Linked DNA regions of Homo sapiens: region 1 is linked to region 2. Evidence: promoter capture Hi-C in 16 types of primary human blood cells and fetal thymus (Javierre and others, 2016). All regions are on one chromosome and are shown on one strand. The core of a region is centred on a gene start or on the middle of the fragment in contact, and the rest is flanking DNA. Distances in the headings are between cores, read along the strand shown. Region 1 overlaps KCNK16 (potassium two pore domain channel subfamily K member 16). Region 2 holds the start of KCNK5 (potassium two pore domain channel subfamily K member 5).

Evidence for each region. The method cuts DNA at HindIII sites, captures the fragments that hold promoters and counts their contacts. A CHiCAGO score of 5 or more calls a contact.
Region 1: a fragment that was not itself captured here is called in contact with the fragment with the promoter of KCNK5 in region 2 in 1 of 17 cell types (megakaryocytes); the score reaches 5.1 in megakaryocytes.

The regions. Positions count from the first base shown.
Region 1 is chr6:39,315,770-39,318,469 of GRCh38, reverse strand. It overlaps KCNK16 (potassium two pore domain channel subfamily K member 16), which reads left to right. Exons shown (of 5, transcript NM_001135106.2): 3 at 518-684; 4 at 1,523-1,688; 5 at 2,028-2,299. The coding sequence ends at 2,251. All of the region lies in intron 1 of LOC105375047 (a long non-coding RNA gene), which reads right to left. Among named protein-coding and RNA genes, the nearest start is that of KCNK17, 2.7 kb to the right of the region's middle. The HindIII fragment of the contact is 3,058 bases long and covers 1-2,700 here.
Region 2 is chr6:39,228,094-39,230,793 of GRCh38, reverse strand. It overlaps KCNK5 (potassium two pore domain channel subfamily K member 5), which reads left to right and starts at 1,319. Exons shown (of 5, transcript NM_003740.4): 1 at 1,319-1,868. The coding sequence starts at 1,683. RefSeq lists an enhancer at 14-741 and silencers at 1,029-1,378, 1,479-1,558, 2,572-2,641. The HindIII fragment of the contact is 7,595 bases long and covers 1-2,700 here.

The DNA of each region.
Region 1 (2,700 bases), core at 201-2,700, 88 kb before region 2:
CATCCCACCCCAAGGAAACCATCAGATCCAGGTCTACCCCATCCATTCAGTTAAGTCCAATTCCACATACTTTCCTTGAACTCAGGTGACATTCCAGGCAGAGTGATGGAGTTGGGGGTGAGAGATACAAACTTGGATCAGACCCAGGCTCAGCCTGCAAGGAACTTCCAGTCCAACAAAGAGGAACATGATAAATACACAAAAAAAAGTAATAGAAAACAAAGTCGATAATTACATAGCAATGACATAAAACACTATGGGGAACCACACCCAGAAGGGAGAAGGAAATCGGCAGTCAGGAGGGCTTCATGGAGGCAGAGTCATTTGAGATGGGCCTTCAAAGATGAGCAGGAGTCCTATAAATAAAAATCATTCCAGCAGAGTTCATGGGAACAGGGGAGCTTCCCCTTCTCACCCCCAGAGGTGGTGACAGACAAACCTCAGCTAGAGTCTGGGGAAGAGGAGCAGAGGGCGTTCTAGAGTCTCCATATTTGCACACGCCCCCCTTCCCTTGCAGGATATGGGAACCTGGCACCCAGCACAGAGGCAGGTCAGGTCTTCTGTGTCTTCTATGCCCTGTTGGGCATCCCGCTTAACGTGATCTTCCTCAACCACCTGGGCACAGGGCTGCGTGCCCATCTGGCCGCCATTGAAAGATGGGAGGACCGTCCCAGGCGCTCCCAGGTATGCCCCCTAACTCCCTTACAGGCCTGCTGTGACAGATCTGTTGCAAGTGGAGTTCCCCAGAAGCCGATGCTGAGATGGAGTTTGGCATGCATGGTGTTAGGGGTAGATGCCTGTGAAAGAGGAAGGGTGAAGGCAGGGTTGGGCAGAGTGGGGAGTTGGATCTCTATGCATGCTCTACAAAGGCTTGGCCCCAAGGAGCTCTACAGCATGTGAGAGCTGTCAGAGTTGTCCCACAGTGGGCGGAACCAGCCAGGTTTTCATACCTGCCTCAATCAGGCACTGGGTGTGGCCTTCCCAGGAAGGGTATGCCCCTAGGCCAGGAGGTTCTCTGCAGCTGAACACCCTGAAGGAGCTGGCAGCTGGCCCACCGTCCTCCTTTAAGTGAGGGATCTCTGTAGCACATCTTCAAGGTCATCACAGAACTCCAACATCCTTTTGTGCAGTAGCAAACAAGCTCTGCAGGCTGCCCAGCATGCCCTCAGTGCCCACCCTTGGCCAGCCACTTGCAAGGCCAGAAATACGCAGACAGTTCAATGATACTTTTCTGTTCCAGATCTGAGTCCCCAGGGAGCCTGTTCAAGTGTGATCCCCAAGTCCAAAGGGGTCTCCAAATCGCTTCTTGACCCACTAACGCAATCCCTCTGCCGAAATCTTTCCCTGGGTGGGACAAGGTCATGCACACATAGATACAACCTCCACCTCGAGGGTCTGCAGTGCAGGAAAGGGTCCTAGCTATGGCCCAGTCCCATTCCCATGTTTACCCCAGACTCCCCCCAACCTCATACAATCCTGGAGACTTTCAAGTGGACTCAGAGGCCAACTCCCTCCCTCCTAGGTACTGCAAGTCCTGGGCCTGGCTCTGTTCCTGACCCTGGGGACGCTGGTCATTCTCATCTTCCCACCCATGGTCTTCAGCCATGTGGAGGGCTGGAGCTTCAGCGAGGGCTTCTACTTTGCTTTCATCACTCTCAGCACCATTGGCTTTGGGGACTATGTTGTTGGTGAGAACAAAACAGTCACATTATCTCAGGGTGGGGGTGCCCACTGGGATTTGGGGGATGGAGAGATGTCAGCTGAGGACAACTATTGAGGATAAGATAGCCCTTGGTCATTCAAGGGAGCCAAACCAATGATTTCTGGGACTACTGTGGATTCTAAGCAACATTCTCAGAAGTTTCTGGTCTAGGACCCATCACCACCCTGCAGAGACCTACCTCAACTGCTGTTCCTTGTTATGAGGAAGAGGGAGAGAGCATCCTGGCTGGTGAGGGTCCCTATGGAAACTGGAGGTGGCTATGCCCTGAGACCCCTGGCATTGATGCCATTCCCTTCCCTGGCAGGCACAGACCCCAGCAAGCATTATATCTCAGTGTATCGGAGCCTGGCAGCCATCTGGATCCTCCTGGGCCTGGCGTGGCTGGCGCTGATCCTCCCACTGGGCCCCCTGCTTCTGCACAGATGCTGCCAGCTCTGGCTGCTCAGTAGGGGCCTCGGCGTCAAGGATGGGGCAGCCTCTGACCCCAGTGGGCTCCCCAGGCCTCAGAAGATCCCCATCTCTGCATGAGGCCCCCGGGGGGGGCCCAGAAACCCCTTTCATCCTCCCCAGTCCCACCCTATCTGCTCTCTGGATTTCCAGCCCTGCTTTCTCCTCTCCCAACCCCCTCACTTCTCAGCCAGGGCTGGTCTCAGGAGCTCTCCCAAGAGAGAAAGGAGACAGGTATATCCAAGAAAGTAACAGAGAGGAGACGTGAGATAGGATTAAAGACATGTGTGGATGGGGAGGTGTACCCTTGTCCCAGAGCCCCTGCCACAGCCTTCCACCCAAAGGTAGTGGCCAGATCTCCACTGCCCTCCCCATGCCCCCTTCCAGGAGACCTTACACAAACAAAGGATGACTTTACTTTTGCCTCATTTGATATGTGCACAGTGCATTTGCCAAGCCCCTACTATGTGCCAGGTGCTGTGCCAGGGTCTGTGCCAGGGTCTGGGGATACAGCAGTGGAAGTGCCTGCC
Region 2 (2,700 bases), core at 70-2,569:
TTTTTAACAAATTCATTCACTCCTTCATTGCACACATGGTTATTGAGTGTCTGCTATGTATGTAACAAGCACTGTGGATACATCATTACACAAGACAGATTCTCCATCTCCCCAGCAGACATTTCCGTGTGTGTGTGTGTGTGTGTGTGTGTGTGTGTGTGTCTGTGTGTGTGTGGCGGGGAGAGGGCACAATACAGAGTAAACAATAAATAAAGTTATATAATATAGCAGAGGGAATTTAGTACTAGGAAGGACATAAAGCCAACGAGGGAGATAAGGTGGCGGGGGTGGAATTTTAAATCAGCTGGAGCATATGTATGAAAGTGGGCCGGGCGCGGTGGCTCACGCCTGTAATCCCAGCACTTTGGGAGGCTGAGGCGGGCGGATCACCTGAGGTCAGGAATTGAGACCAGCCTGGCCAACACGGTGAAACCCCGTCTCTACTAAAAATACAAAAATTAGCTGGGCGTGATGGCGTGCGCCTGTAGTCCCAGCTTCTTGAGAGGCTGAGGCAGAAGAACTGCTTGAACTCGGGAGGCGGGGGTTGCAGTGAGCCGAGATAGTGCCACTGCACTCCAGCCTGGCGACAGAGTGAGACTCCGTCTGAAAGAAAAGAGGAAAGGAGAGGAAAGGAGAAGAGAAAAGAAAAGAGAAAAGAAAAAAAGAAAAGAGGCCAAGTGTTTCCCGTAGAGATACTGTGTATTGGGGGGGCGCACAGGGGTGCCACGAATTGAGCTGCCCACTCCTTCCAGATGCAGGGTTCTCACCCGGGTAGGTGAGAACGGGGTGAGGGGGAGGAATCACGCGTGGGTGGCTGGATTAGTTCCTGATGTCCTCTGATTCCCTACAGCTTCTTCAGCCCCGTTCTAACCCCCTTCCTCAGGCTTACAAGAAAGTGTGTGGAAGAGAGACACGGAGAGACTGAGCATTAGACTTTTTTGGAAGAAACATCAGTAAATGAAAATGGAATTACAATAAAAATAACAAAAGCAATAAACTCCTGACCTCAGTCACAATCATTTTAGTTAACACGCCAGTCCTAATAACAAACACGAGTCCCTGAGACCGCAACCCCTCGGGCACCGCAGGGCGTGCAGGTCTGGGCGGGCGGCGCAGCCTCCCCTGGCGGCTGACCCTGGGAGCGCGGGGAGCGCCAAGCCTCTTCTAGCGCTCACCTCGCGCTCACTCCTGCGCTCGCCGGGCTGCTTGTGCGGGGAAGGGGCGGGGCCCGCCTGGGCTCCTCCCCGGTCGGAGCCCGGAGCAAGGGGGCAGAGCGCGCCGGGCGCTGGTTAAAGAGGCGTGCGGAGGCGGGCGCGGCGCATACTGCTAGTGGCGCGCGGAGGAGCGACGCGTGGAGAAGCGGCCCACGTGTCTGCCCAGAGTCAAGTCCTGTGTTCTTCCCGCTCCTTACGCATCCGCGGTCCAGGGCGCCCTTTCAGCCCCGCTGGTGTTCGCCCACCCCGGGCCGCGTGAGTGGGGCCCCACGCAGCTCCCCGCACTCCGTGGGCCAACTTGGCCAAGCAACTCTGTCCGGGGAGCGGTGCTTGCGGGGGGTGAGTACCGGGCACTGCGCATGCGGAGCTCCAAATTCAAACAGCTGTTTTCAGAGGCTGGAGGGCGGGCGGACTGGTAGCAGCTGGGGCTAGGAGAGGCTTTCTCTAGGAGGCGGCCGCTCGGGAGCCATGGTGGACCGGGGCCCTCTGCTCACCTCGGCCATCATCTTCTACCTGGCCATCGGGGCGGCGATCTTCGAAGTGCTGGAGGAGCCACACTGGAAGGAGGCCAAGAAAAACTACTACACACAGAAGCTGCATCTGCTCAAGGAGTTCCCGTGCCTGGGTCAGGAGGGCCTGGACAAGATCCTAGAGGTCAGTCGCCGCCTGTACCCCCATATACATCTGAAGCTGGCTTGAGCTTTAGGGGGCGCTGAAAGGAAGACCCCTTCACAGCTTTGGGTGACCCTCAGTCCCTGTGGAAGGTCCAGGGGGTGATGAGAGAGCGTGTCTCATCATGGGTCAGGCTTCGAGGATCTGTCGCTCACCCGAGGGACACAGGGGTCCCCCAGGCGCGGAGACTCTTTGGAACTTAGTTTGGCCGGAGACAAATTGGAGTTGATTCCCGGGTGAACTAGGCTCCACGGTGTTTCAGTGTGGGTGTGACGGTACCTCCCTCCTTGGGAAGAGGCTGTGGGACGGATAAAGGCGTTTATCTTTCCCTGGAGACGCTCCCGGAGTCTGGGAGCCAAGCCTGGTGCCATCCCCTCGTGTCTCCACCTCCCCGCTCCAGGGCCAGTGCCACGCCTGCCAGGCTTTTCTTAAGGAACGTGAACCCGGCAGAGTGGCGGGAGGGTCCCTCAGCCCGAGCCTGGGCAAAATCTTCCGCCCCCAGCAGAGTTCCGGAGAGGAGCTGGAGGCTCTGTGGGGCCCGAACCCACGGGATGAGGGCTGGTGCCTGGAATGCTGGGGACGCGCTCAGGCTTCCGGGAAGGCTTATCTCGCGGAGACATCCTTCAAGGGCTTGGAGTAAAACTTTGTGAAAGTAGCAGGTTGCACAAACGAATAATACCCGCGTAGTCCCTTTATGATGGGGGAGGAGAGTGTGTGCGGAATTGGGGTGGGTGGGGGACTTCCCTCCGTGCTGACATTGGGAACCGCTTATTTTCTGGTGCACAGCCCGATGGGTGGCATTGACCTCACTTTG